Linked DNA regions of Homo sapiens: regions 1 and 3 are each linked to region 2. Evidence: promoter capture Hi-C in 16 types of primary human blood cells and fetal thymus (Javierre and others, 2016). All regions are on one chromosome and are shown on one strand. Each heading gives the region's core, a stretch centred on a gene start or on the middle of the fragment in contact. The rest is flanking DNA. Distances are from core to core; before and after follow the strand shown.

Region 1 (4,088 bases), core at 804-3,303, 3.7 Mb before region 2:
CAACAACCATTCATTTAGTTTGGTTTGATTTTCTGCCAGTCTCATGACCGACTTGAAGCACGTCCTAGAACAGAGAATGTTATGTTTGGTGTCCAAGGAAGCAGCAAACTAGAGGCGCCATCCCAAATTCTAGAATAATAGAGTCAACAATCGTTTCACACCAAAGTCATCCATTTTCTGAAGCAAATTTTGAACTAAAATGTTAAAAATGTTTTGTAAGGTAGATTAAACGTCATGTGGGGAAAATAACTTGTTAGTGCAAAAAGGAAAAGAAACTGAAAACAGACATATCTGTAGATAAATTTTCCTTTCAAGATTCTACAGTATAAATATCCATCTAAAAGATGAATTGGCTTCTTAAGCCAATTCATTGTCACTTGCTTCTGAAGTGTTTCCCAGGCACCTTAGTTATCAGCCACCCTGCCCCTAGGGTATCGAGGACAAATACGTTTCAGGTAGCTTGACAACAGGAAAGAATTTTAAGGACAAGAAACTACCTGCAATACCAGTTGGGAGTGTCCTGAAAAGTGATGTACTGAAATACTGACCCTTCCAGCTGGTTAACTTTCATAATCATGCATTTACTTTTCAATGGCAACTGAATATATGACTGCCTGATGATTCAGGGGAAAAAATGCAGTATTGTGTGTGGAATTGGAAGAGATTCAAAGTGAGTGCCATGGCAGTGACTAACTTCTTTCAAAAGCTTAAGGAAGAAACAATGCATAGGCCTTTGAGTTAGTTGGTGTAGTAAGCATTGTGTTTTCACCATCAGTATCCATTTCTATATTTTGGTGACAGTACTCCATTTTGTTCTTCCGGGAACCACTCCTCTCCTATAGTCCATGATCTTTGGGTGGACCAGAGGTAAAGCATATGACTCAAATTTGGCTAATCATAGCACAAGAGTTTTCCTTGCTACAGTAATTTGTTAAAGGATGGGAAGGTAACTCTCTATCCTTTAACAAATTACTGTAGCAAGGTAATTGGTTCAGTGAATCTAGGAGCTACTGGAAGGGATCTCTTGCTGGACTTGGACTGGAGTGAATATAGAACTAAAGTTTTTGAGAACTGTCTTGTTGCCACATGATGAAGTCTGAGTATAAGCCAATATGGAGAAAAGCTGATTGGGGTTTTTTTTGTTTTGTTTTGTTTTTAAAAGAAACAGGATCTTGCTGTGTTGCCCAGGCTGGAGTGCAGTGGCTATTCACAGGCACAATTGTGGTGCCATATAAGCCTTGGACTCCTGGGCTCAAGCTTCCTGAGGTAGCTGACATTACTACTACAGGCACAAACCTGGGCCTTTTTTTTTTTTTTTTTTTACCCCCCAGAAGGCTCTCTCTTTATTTGTCTGACCTGAAATGGGCATAAGTTGCAACAGATTGAAAATTCTAACTCTACCTTCATTTTCAGAAGTGTCTAAATTAAACATTTATAAGAAAATTGATGTTTTATAAAAACAAAAGACATGAAAAGCTCTGTATTCAAATATTTTTATTCTGTGAACATTGAAAATGCCTTCTAGGAATATGGCATTGCGGGGTGTATACAAAAAAATAGATCTTTTCTCAAAAAGCATGTAATCTGCTTGGGAAGACAAGAACATTATTAAAAAAAACCCTTTAGAACACAAGTGAGTTGTGGACAGTAATACATATAAATAATCTGAATGGCAGTATATAATAACTGATAACTATCTACAACCAAAACCAGCCTAGAACAAAAGCATGAGTAAGAGGCTTTAGGGTACACTTCTGAGCATTTTCTTTTAATTCTCAAGACATTTGTCCTTGTTTTCCTAATCTTTAGGTGGATTCATACATTTGTATTTCCTACCTGGTATTTCCTCTGAATTACTGACTTGTAATTCAAACACCACATCTGCTCCCAACCACTTCCTACCACTTCCACTGCTACCTGAATTATTGTTATAGCCTAACTGGTCTTCCTGCTCTCACCTTTGCTCCCCTAAAGTCTATTCACAATAACCAGTTTAAACTATTATTTTATTAGGAAAAATTTCAAACACACAGCAAAGTTGAAAGAATTTTACAGCAATCACTTCTGCATCCACCACTTATATTCTACCATTAACAGAATACTCCTTTAAATAATGGCAGATGTGTAGTTCCTCTGCTCAAAACCCTCCCACGGCTTAGCTTACTCAAAGAGGAAAAACCAGGCTGGGCGTGATAGCTCACGTCTGTAATCCCAGCATTTTGGAAGACTTTAGGAGGCTGAGGTGGGAGGATCACTTGCGGGCGGGAGTTTAAGACCAGCCTGGGCAACATAATGAAATACCATCTCTTAAAAAAAAAAACTTAGCTGGGCGTGGTGCTGGATGCCTGTAGTCCCAGTTACTAAGGAAGCTAAGGCAGGAAGATCACTTGAGCCCAGAAGTTCAGGACTGCAGTGAGCTATGAGCACGCCATTGCACTCCAGCCTGAGTGACAAAGTGAGACCCTGTCTTAAGGGGGAAAAAAAAAAGGAGAAAAGCCAATTTGTTACCATGGTCACCAGTATGATCTGGCCTCTGTTACCATTCTTCCCACTTGTCCTTTACTCTTCAGCCTTGTTACTGCTCCTTAAACATGGCAGGCACATTTTTGTTTTAGGGCCTTTGCACTTGCTGTTCCTTTGCTTCAAATGCTCTTCTCCCAGGTATTTACATGGCTTGCTTCTCTTTCTTTCGATCACCTCATTAGTTCTGACTCTTCCAAGTATTAAGTTGAACCATATGACCCTAATGTCACACAACTGGATTGAACCATTCAAACCTAAGGTGTAATGTCATTCTCAGGTCAAAAATTATTTTTAAAAATCAGTAATTTCATAGGATTCAAGCTTATAAAATAGCAACTCCACCCTACCCTTTCATTCTCACCCTGTTCCAATATTCTTACAGCACTATTATCTTATTTATGATTTGTATATTGTATGTAAGATCCTCACAGATAGGGAATTTGTCTGTTGTCCACTGCCGTGTGCTCTGTGTGCAGAGTAGGATTTGGTCTATAGCAGGCCTTCAGGATGCATTTATTTAAAGAATGAGTAGCTGAGACTACAGGTGCGCACCACCACACTTGGCTAATGTTTTCATTTTTTTATATTTTGTAGAGATGGGGTCCCACTATATTGCTTAGGCTGGTCTCAAACTCCTGGGCGCAAGCAATCCTCTCACCTTGGCCTCCCAAAGTGCTGGGCTTACAGTTGTGAGCTACCACACCTGGCCAAAAATGAATTCTTTTTAAAAAATTTTTCTTTTTTGAAGCAAAGTCTTACTCTGTGGCCCAGGCTGGAGTGCAGTGCCATGATCTCGACTCACTGCAGCCTACGCCTCCCCGGTTCAAGCGATTCTTGTGCCTCAGCCTCCCGAGTAGCTGGGACCACAGGTGCATGACACTATGCATGAATGAATTCTTAACATTGAAGTCAGAGTGGTCTTTTGAAAATACAAATCTGATCATGTTGCTCTCACTAAAAACTCGATTGGTTTGCAGATTTCGGAACAAAGATTAGAATCTTTACCACAGCCTCTAAGACCCTGAATGGTGGACCCTTAACTCTCCAGACTCATCTCACATTCTCTCATTTCAGTCCCTGGGACTCTGTTGCTTCTATCATGAGGTCTATTTGTGCTTTCTTGCTTTCCCCCACCTCTGCATGTAGTTTATACTCTGAGGCACTTTTAAATCTCGGCTTGAAACATCTATTCCCAGGAGAAGGCATTTCTGATACCTCAGGTTAGGTCAAGTCCCAATGCTTTTATGCCCTCATGGCAGCACATACCTACCCTTTGTAATACCTGTTAGATTTTAAAGGTACTTTTGTGAGATTGTCTAACTTACCAGTTTCATAAGAAAAAGAAACATTTTTGTTTTTGCTTCCCGTCGGATGTCTAGCATTTGCAAATTATCTAGCACATAGTGAGAGCTTAACATTAAAAAAATATATATCAACAGAAACTCTGGAATTCTAGCTCCTTAAGAGCAGAGATTGTTTTGTCCCTGTGTCAAGTACCTAATTGGGTGCTTGATTTATCTGCTGATACACAGCAGATAAATAATAGTTTGTTAAATAAGCTATAA
Region 2 (4,389 bases), core at 104-2,603:
TTTTTGGAGACCGAGTGTTGCTCTGTCTTCTCCCGGGTTCAAGCCTTACTCCCGCCTCAGCCTCCTGAGTAGCTGGGATTACATGGGCGCGCCACCACATCCAGCTAATTTTTGTTATTTTTGGTAGAGACGGGGTTTCACCATGTTGGCCGGGATGGTCTCCTGACCTCAACTAATTCACCCGCCTCGGCCTCCCGAAGTGCTGGGATTACAGGCGTGAGCCTGTAAGTTAGTATCTAAATCACACAGGCGTTGAGACTATTTTTTTCTGGCTCAGTGCCACTGCTTTATTAGGCTGACATTTTAATCTATGTATTTTTGCACTTAAACTGGCAAGTTGGGGCGGGGCGCTCAGCATTTGGGTCTTATTCTTAGGCAGTAAGTTCGATGCAGGGCGAAGCCCGGGCCTTGACGTTCTCTTCAGCAAGGATTCCGCCCGTCAAGCGCCAGCAGCCGCTCCTAAGGAACTCTGATCCGCACACTGGCTCTGTAAGTCAGCCTCTGGCTCCTGCTTTCTATTTCATCTCTTCCGGTAAAAAGATTTCTGTCTTTTGGCCGCAGTGGCGCGTGCCCACGCTAGGTCGCTGAGGAAGACCCTTCGGGCCTTCTGAGCAGCGTAGCTGTTACTGTGGCACGTCCTAATGGTTCGGTCCAACTTCAGGAGACCGCCTGCCCTTAGGATGACCAACAGCTAGTTCAACTCAGGATAGCCAAGCTGCTCTCGGCAATGCAACCAATAGGGGAAGTCTTTCCAGAGCTCTTTCTCAGGAGCGTTGATTGGCTTATTCTCACGCCAATCAAGGTTTTCTGCACAACTGGCTTTTCTGTCACCAGATGGGGTGCAAACCGCTCACTCCCTCGGTAGAGAGGGCATAAAGCAGAGACGACCGGGAAATACCACAGAGGAGCAAATCACCTCCGGAAGTGGCGTTTTGGGTCGCTTTCTACCATGCAGTCCAATGAACTCTTTCTTTTGGCAACAAATTCCGTCTTCGAGCCCGCCCAAGGTGAAGAACATTTTGATTGGTTGTTTAGTCGGGGGACACAGAGACTCACGGGAGCTTCGTCCAAGCCCTTGCAGGTATTGCTCAGTTGGCCTGTCAATCATCTCGCTCGCTAGAAGGGGCGGAAACTGGCAGCCCTTTTGGCACCGCCTCTTCCTGGGCTGCTGTGCGGGGACGCAGCGAGGCCACCCCGGCTGGGAACAGCCGCGTGGGCGGGGCCGCATTGCACTCTCTGGACAGTTCCTGGGCCGCGAGGCGCGGGGAGTGGCCCTAAGCGCGGGGCTGTACGGGGAGGGCCGAGGCGTGGGGCGAACGCCGGGGCGGGGTCGGGGCGGGGCCGGGGGAGGCGGAAGCGGCGCGTGAACCTAAGTCGGAGTCGCGTTGAAGCCAGCGTCCGGCCGGCAGAGCGGCGTCGGCGGGGTTGGCCGGGGCGGTGTGGCGCTAGAGCCTGGGCGGGCCGGGGGCAAGGAGTCAAGGCTTGGGGGCGGGTGACGGGCGGGCGGAGGGCTTGCCCCCGTGTGGTCCTCGGAGCGGCCCGAGGTCCAGCCTCCCAGCGGTCCCGGAGGAGGATGCGACCGGGGGGCCCCGGGCGGGGCGGTCGGCGGCGGCTGCAGCGCTAGCGGCGCGGGGGCTGGGCGGCGGCGCCGGCATGAGGCGCAGGGCCGGTGTCCGCGGGAGGGTGGCGCTGCCGGCGGCCCGGCCGCTCCCGCTGCAATTGCTCGCTGGGCTCGTCGTGCCCTGCCAGTGGGGCCCCCGCAGCTCTCGTCCCGGCCGCCGCTGGTGACCACTCGCCGCCCCTCCGGAGGCTTCACCCGCGCCCTCCCCCAGGACGCGCCAGCGGAGCTCCGGCTCCTTCGCCCTGGACGCGGAGGCCGCGGTGTGCGGGGCGACGGCGAGGCCGGAAGATGGCCTGGGTGCTCAAGATGGACGAGGTGATCGAGTCCGGGCTGGTGCACGACTTCGACGCCAGCCTCTCGGGCATCGGGCAGGAACTGGGCGCCGGCGCTTACAGCATGAGGTACTGGGCTCCCTGGGCGGGGAGAAGCCTCTGTCTCCTTGGGGAAGGCCTGCGCAGCCCTGAGTCTCTGCCAGATGCGGCTGCTCCCAGAGGTGCGCGGGCCTCCTGGGCTGCGGGGTCGGAGTCCTGCCGCGTGGCGGTCGGGGGCCATGGAACCCCAAAGGCCTCTGCTCGCCCTGGTGACGGGCGGGTGGGGGAGGATGGCCCCGCAAGCGTCGGCCTCGGACCGCTCCTGAGTGCTTCATATTTGCTGTAAAACACGCCCAGCTATTAGGATGGCTTGGGTTGGTGGGGGAAGGGGCTTCTTTTCCTTATAAGTGATTTACAAGTCCCATTGGAGCTAGAATACACTGTACGAAAAGGCAGCACTTATATTGGGAGAATACTGTCTAGCGTTTTGGGATCAGTTCCTACTTTGTTGTCCTACATTATGATCTTTTCTGGCTGCAGATTTTAATCACTTGATGTTAGTAAATTATAATTGAAAGAGCAGCGGTGGGAGTAGCACTGTGACTTCGTTTTGTTCTTTTGATTGTCTCAAAGTGAAGTTTCTCATTTTGGAGACTACCCTCTCAGGCTGTTTCCTCTTGAGGGTTTTAAGATGCAGTGATTGCACCACAAATAATTGTTTAGTCTCTGCTGTCTGTACCAGCAGTCATTCATTTTAATATGGAGAGATTGAAACAGATCTGAGCTTAGTCTCCGCCCTTTATCCTTTTTAACTGTTAGGAATTTGGAAACTCTGTATTTTTTTAGTGGCTTTATTGAAATATAGTTTACCATAGCGTTGACTTGACTAATAAAGTCTAAAAATCAGTGGTTTGGCAGCTTTTCAATAATGTGAATTAAGTGTAGCTTTCTGTTCTTTAGAAAATGTCTGATGTTTTGGAAGTGCTCTACAGTTTCCCAGTAGCATTCATACATCTTACTGCAGCTCTAGAGGAGGACTTCTGGGTTAAAGCTGGCCTGGAATCTTGGTGGCTGCTCCTTGAAGTAATTGGGTCTTTAAATCTTAAGGAGAAATTCTGAGCCATAAAGAACTCTCAGAAAGGTTGGAGACATTTCTTGGAGTGTGGAAGTGAGTAGTGGAAGGCATATTAAACCTGGAGTTCCCCAGCGTCTGGCTCTGATTTGGTCTCTGTTGGGCTTCCTGAACTTGGCACCTCTTCTCTCTGCAGTTGTATAACTTAAGGCCTGTAGATGAGTTGGCTTATTTTCTAAAACAGCTGTTTCAGTTGTTGAGGAAATTGAGCTACTGAAAGTCATGGAGTCACCCCAGAGGGGAGTATTAGAGGCAGTGCTTCTCTAGTGAAAACGCACTCCTCTAGTGCCATTCTGCTCCTTAGCTCTCTACTGGAAACACGAGGCTTATAGTCAAGGCAAAGGAGGCACGTGAAGCAAGTTCAATATGTGTCTCTCCTCAGTTGCTTCTCTTTTATGGTAAAATGAAAGTTTGCTGCTGAAAAGTTTACTTATTGATAGCTATTTTGAGCTTTTACTTTTTTCTAGGGTTTTATTTGACCTGTACTTTGATTTAGTGATTCAGCCAACTTATTAATGTAATAACTTCTGTGTATGGTTTATTTCCATGAAAAGGAAGTACAATCTTGATGATTTTAAACCTTTCCCTGACCATGTATTTTTAAAGTAATGTGTGAGATCTTTGTAATTCTGTGTAACCTACAGTACTCTTTACAGGGATAATTTTCCCTTGAATTCTTTTTTGGTTGTGTCATTTAATCTAAATTTTCAAAGAAGTTTGAAGGTAATTACCATTTTTAAGAAGGTTTTTTTTTCGTATTTAATTGAGTCCTCAAAAACTAAGAGATGAGAGTGCTTGCCTCTTGCAAATTCAAGGCCCTTTGTTTGAAATTCTCAAACTAAGGAAATTCCAAAATTGACTCGATAAGGAGAAAATCTGAAGAAGGCGTTAGCTGCTGCAGGCCTCCCTGGACTGCAGTTGTACTTTCCATGCCTGGCCCTGGAGCCCTGAGAGGGTTGGAGTGCCTATGAATGGCCAGCTTGAGCATTCAGTCACTTCCTCTGGCATCCAGTGGGAAGGAAAGCTTATCTTTCAAAGTTCAAGAAGTAAACTTGAAGAAATTACTGGAAAAATGACTTCTTGATACAAATTGATTTTGTAGGCAGCTTTCTATTTTTCTTTCAAAATGAAACATGCTTACTGTATTTGCTTTTTGGATGGCTTAAAACAAGAGGTATTTCTTAAAAGACTTCTCTTAGGGAATGGTTTCCTCATCTTTTGGGAGGATAGTTTGAAAGGAAGAAATGGCTTCTGTCAGTGGTCTGACTTAAAATTAGGCAGGTGTGATGTTTGGTATGCTTGTAGACCTAGCTACGTGGGAGATT
Region 3 (4,642 bases), core at 75-2,574, 3.5 Mb before region 2:
GGGAACGTAAAACGGTACAGCCACTATAGAAAACAGTATGGCAGTCACTCATATTAAAAATAGAATTACATATAATCCAGCATTTCAACTTCTGGGTGTATACACAAAAAAGTGAAAGCAAGGACTTAAACATGTTCGCGGCAGCATTATTCACAATAGACAAAAGGTGGAAGCAACCCAAATGTTCATTGACAGATGAAATCGTTAATAAAATTTGGTATGTACATACAATGGAATATTATGTTGTAGCATATATCAAAATGTCTTTCCTTTTAAAAGCTGAGGGCACTATCCTAAGTGAAATAAGTCAGTCACAAAAAGACAAATACTGTTTGATTCCACCTATATAAGGTTATGTGCAGTAGTCAAATTCAGAAAGACAGAAAGTAGAATGGTGGTTGCCAGGGGCTGGGGGAGGGGGTAATGGAGATTTTTTGTTTTTAATTCTTTTTTCAAAATTTACTTTTTACTTTTTTCTTTTGTTAAAAAAAATTTTACTCTTAACACCACTCAATGAGAGATTACTGTTTAATAGATACAGAGTTCCAGTTTTGGGGTTTTTTGTTTGCTTGTTTGTTTGTTTTAGATAGGGCCTTGCTTTGTCACCCAGGGAGAGTACAATGGCACGCTCAAAGCTCACTGCAGCCTTGAACTCCTGGGCTCAAGTGACCCTCCCACCTCAGCTTCCTGAGTAGCTGGGACTACAGATGTGTATCACTATACTTGGCTATTTTTATTTTATTTTATTTTATTTCATTTCATTTATTTATTTATTTATTTTGAGATGGAGTCTCGCTCTGTCGCCCAGGCTGGAGTGCAGTGGCATGATCTCGGCTCACTGCAAGCTCCACCTCACGGGTTCATGCCATTCACCTGCCTCAGCCTCCTGAGTAGCTGGGACTACAGGCGCCCGCCACTACTCCCAGCTAATTTTTTTGTATTTTTAGTAGAGACGGGGTTTCACGTGTTAGCCAGGATGGTCTCAATCTCCTGACCTCGTGATCCGCCCGCCTCAGCCTCCCAAAGTGCTGGGATTACAGGCATGAGCCACCGCGCCCAGCTATTTTATTTTTCTGAGATAGAGTCTCACTCTGTTGCCCAGGCTGTAGTGCAGTGGCACGATCTTGGCTCACTGCAACCTCCGCCTCCCAGGTTCAAACGATTCTCCTGCTGCAGCCTCCAGAGTAACCGGGACTACAGGTGCGCGCCACCATGCCCAGGTAATTTTTTGTATTTTTAGTACAGATGGGGTTTCACCATGTTGGGCAGGCTGGTCTTGAACTCCTGAGCTCAGGCAATCTGCCCACCATGGCCTCCCAAAGTGCTGGGATTACAGGCATGAGCCATCGCGCCTGGTCTATTTTTATTTTGTTTTTATAGAGACGGTGTCTCACTATATTGCCCCAGCTGGTCTCAAACTCCTGGGCTGAAGCGATCCTCCTGCTTCGGCCTCTCAAAGTGCTGAGATTACAGTCGTGAGCCACCGCACCTGGTTCAGAGTTCCAGTTTTGCAAGATAAAAATAATTCTGCAGATGGATGGTGGTGATGGTTGTGCAACAATGTGAATGTGCTTCGTACCACTGCACTGTACAGTTAAAAACAGTTAAGACGGTTCATTTTATGTTATGTGTATTTTATCACAATTTTAAATAAAAGAATCAAGTTTAAGTACTCTATAAAATTAAGCATAAACCTATACCATACCTCAATAATTTCACTCCTAGGTATTTACACAAAAAAATCAAAACATATGTCCACAAAAATGTTCATCGTTCAAGAATGTTCATAGCAGCTTTATTCATTATAATCCAAAACTGGGAACAAACCAAATGTCTGTCAACAGGAAATGGGTAAACAAAATAGGCTCTATCCATACAATAGAGTACTAATCTGGAAGAAACGACTGATACACATAACAATATGGATAAATGTTAAAAACATTATTCTGAGGAAAATAAACCAGACACAAAAGGAAATATACTGGTTTTATGAAGATCAACAGCAGAAGAATCAAAACAATGGTGATAGAATCAGAGCAGTGAGGGTTGGGAGTGGAGATGGGAAGGCAGGGAGGCCAAGGGTTGGGGGCATGGGGGGGTGAACTGCTACTGACAGAAGGAACTTTCTGGGTCGATGTATGGTTTTTTTTGTTGTTTTTTGTTTTTTTGAGACGGAGTCTCTCTCTGTTGCCCAGGCTGGAGTGCAGTGGTGCTATCTCGGCTCAATGCAACCTCTGCCTCCCGGGTTCAAGCGATTTTCCTGCCTCAACCTCCTGAGTAGCTGGGACAACAGGCATGTGCCACCATGCCTGGCTAATTTTTTGTATTTTTAGTGGACAGCCAGGATGGTCTCGATCTCCTGACCTCATGATCCACCTGCCTTGGCCTCCCAAAGTGCTAGGATTACGGGCATGAGCCACTGCGCCCGGCTGATGTAAGTATTTATATCTTGACTGAGGTGTTGGTTCCACAGGTATACATATTTGCCAAAACTCATCAAACTGTATACTTAAGGTCTGTGAACTTACTATATGTTCTTTATACCTCAATATAATTAGTATTTAAAAAAAGAGAAAGTCCTCTCCCTGCTCTCCCCTCTTCCCCTGGGGTCAATGAAGCAAGTATGAAAAAACTAATGTGGTTTTGATATTATTCTGTGTTCTGTGATGCATATCATTTATAAAACAACAGAAGTTCATTTCTTGTGAACAGTTTGCTTATAATAAACCAAGGGCAACAGGTCACTGCTGACTGGCCTAGCTCCCTTAGCCAGCATCACAGATGACTAAGAGGGAAGTGAGAGATAGCAAGTGTAAGCTTCGTGCAGCATGACAGTATCAAACAGGAGCAAGAGACAGTTCAGGAAGGTGGGGGCATAGCTCATGAGGAAGGTTGCTTGGTGAGCGGCAGGCCTCTGCATTATCTTTGGTATCAGTGAAGAGCTGGTTTCCTTGGCAACAGGGGCCTACTTAATGAATGGTGCCTGCCAGGCAGCAGGCATGGACATGTCCATAGCAAGTGTACAATAGTGAAAGAAGATCTCTTCACCAAATATTCCCTTTTAGTCTACATACTGAGATCTGTTGATGGTTTAAGAACAATCAGAGAATGCTGAAAGACATAATAAAAAGCTTCAGTGCCATTACCCACTTCTCTTCTCCCCCATTCCTAGTAACAACCACTTGTAACCTTTTATCCTTCTCCTCCTCCCCCTCCTTCTCCACTCCTCCCACTCCTTCTCTCCTCCTCCTCCACCCCCCCCCCCCCGCCCACGCTCCCTCCCTCCCTCTCTTCCTTCCTTCCTTCTTCATTTTTTTAAATTTTTTTTGAGATGGTCTCACTCTGTTGGCTCACTGTAGCTTCCACCTTCTGGGCTCAACTGATTCTCCTGCCTCAGCCTCTGAAGTAGCTGGGAATACAGGCATACACCACCACACCCAGCTAATTTTTCTGTTTTTTTGTAGCGATGAGGTCTCACTACGTTGCTTAGGCTGGTCTCAAACTCCGGGACTCAAATGATCTGCCTGCCTCTGCCTCCCAAAGTGCTGGGATTACAGGCCTGAGCCACCGTGCCCAGCCTCCTTTTCTTTCATTAGTTATTTTGGTTTCATATATATTTCTGTATATTGCTAATTCTTAATTTATCAACTGTAGGCATTGTCTACTTATTGCTTATGATTAATAAGGATTTAACTAATTAATACCACCCCATTTCTCCTTTTCTTCTTTTTACCATGACTTTTGTTGTATCATTGGTTTTCTTTCCATTGGTTACTTTTATACATTTAGATTCTGTTCTTAAACTATTTGTTTTTAATTCTGTCAATTTTCACTAACGTCTCTTGACTTTTTTCCCCTACCCTTGCCTCCATCTCTTTTCCTACTTCTACCTTCTGGTTTCTGTGAGCTTCACTTTGATATTTACATTGTTGAGGTTGAAAATTTACATTCTGTTCAGAAACCTGAACCCCCATCCTTTGTCTGTAGGTTGATGACACAAATTTAAAATTACTAAAAATATTAAATTGTTATGACATTATGTTTTCTTGTATAATTATGTCATCACCCTAGACCTCTCAAAGGACAATATTCCTAGAAAATTCTATGATGGGCCAGGCGCGGTGGCTCACGCCTATAATCCCAGCACTTTGGGAGGCTGAGGTTGGCAGATCACTTGAGTTCGGGAGTTCAAGACCAGCCTGACAAACAGGGTGAAATCCTGTCTCTACTAAAAAATACAAAAATTAGCCAGGTGTTGTGGCGGGCACCTGTAATCCCAGCTGCTTGGGACGCTGAGGCATGAGAATCACTTGACCCCGGGAAGCAGAGGTTGCAGTGAACTGAGATCACCACTGCACTCCAGCCTGGGTGACAGAGTGAGACCCTGTCTCAAAAAAAAAAAAAAAAAAAAAAGAAAAAGAAAATTGCATGGTGGATTCTCTTTTCTTAAAGAACCACAGTTGCCCAAATTCATACCACATTTGTTTATTTCAAGTTTGGATCATAACTTTCCTGTCTTAGAATTTTTATAATTTTTCCCTCATCAGGAGAAGCAAAAGCCTTCTTCATGAAAGCACTGATATCTATTAGTTCCTTACTCTAAAATTGTTCAGGGTCTATTCTAGAAGTCTTAAGAATATCT

What was found. Contacts are between HindIII fragments. The CHiCAGO score rates a contact against its expected background, and 5 or more counts as called.
Region 1: a fragment that was not itself captured here is called in contact with the fragment with the promoter of UBP1 in region 2 in 1 of 17 cell types (M2 macrophages); the score reaches 6.1 in M2 macrophages.
Region 3: a contact is called between a fragment that was not itself captured here and the fragment with the promoter of UBP1 in region 2, in 1 of 17 cell types (naive B cells). The highest score is 6.4, in naive B cells.

Annotation. Positions count from the first base shown.
Region 1 is chr3:37,180,124-37,184,211 of GRCh38, reverse strand. The region is part of intron 1 of LOC105377642 (a long non-coding RNA gene); the gene reads right to left. Among named protein-coding and RNA genes, the nearest start is that of LRRFIP2, 7.6 kb to the right of the region's middle. The HindIII fragment of the contact is 1,587 bases long and covers 1,260-2,846 here.
Region 2 is chr3:33,437,369-33,441,757 of GRCh38, reverse strand. It overlaps UBP1 (upstream binding protein 1), which reads left to right and starts at 1,353. Exons shown (of 16, transcript NM_014517.5): 1 at 1,353-2,022. The coding sequence starts at 1,910. RefSeq lists enhancers at 375-664, 875-1,064, 1,396-1,895 and silencers at 1,215-1,374, 1,435-1,544, 1,595-1,914, 2,145-2,194, 2,114-2,348 and 1 more. The HindIII fragment of the contact is 4,671 bases long and covers 1-4,090 here.
Region 3 is chr3:36,968,319-36,972,960 of GRCh38, reverse strand. No RefSeq gene overlaps it. Among named protein-coding and RNA genes, the nearest start is that of EPM2AIP1, 22 kb to the left of the region's middle. RefSeq lists enhancers at 3,013-3,072, 3,163-3,212. The HindIII fragment of the contact is 2,991 bases long and covers 1-2,819 here.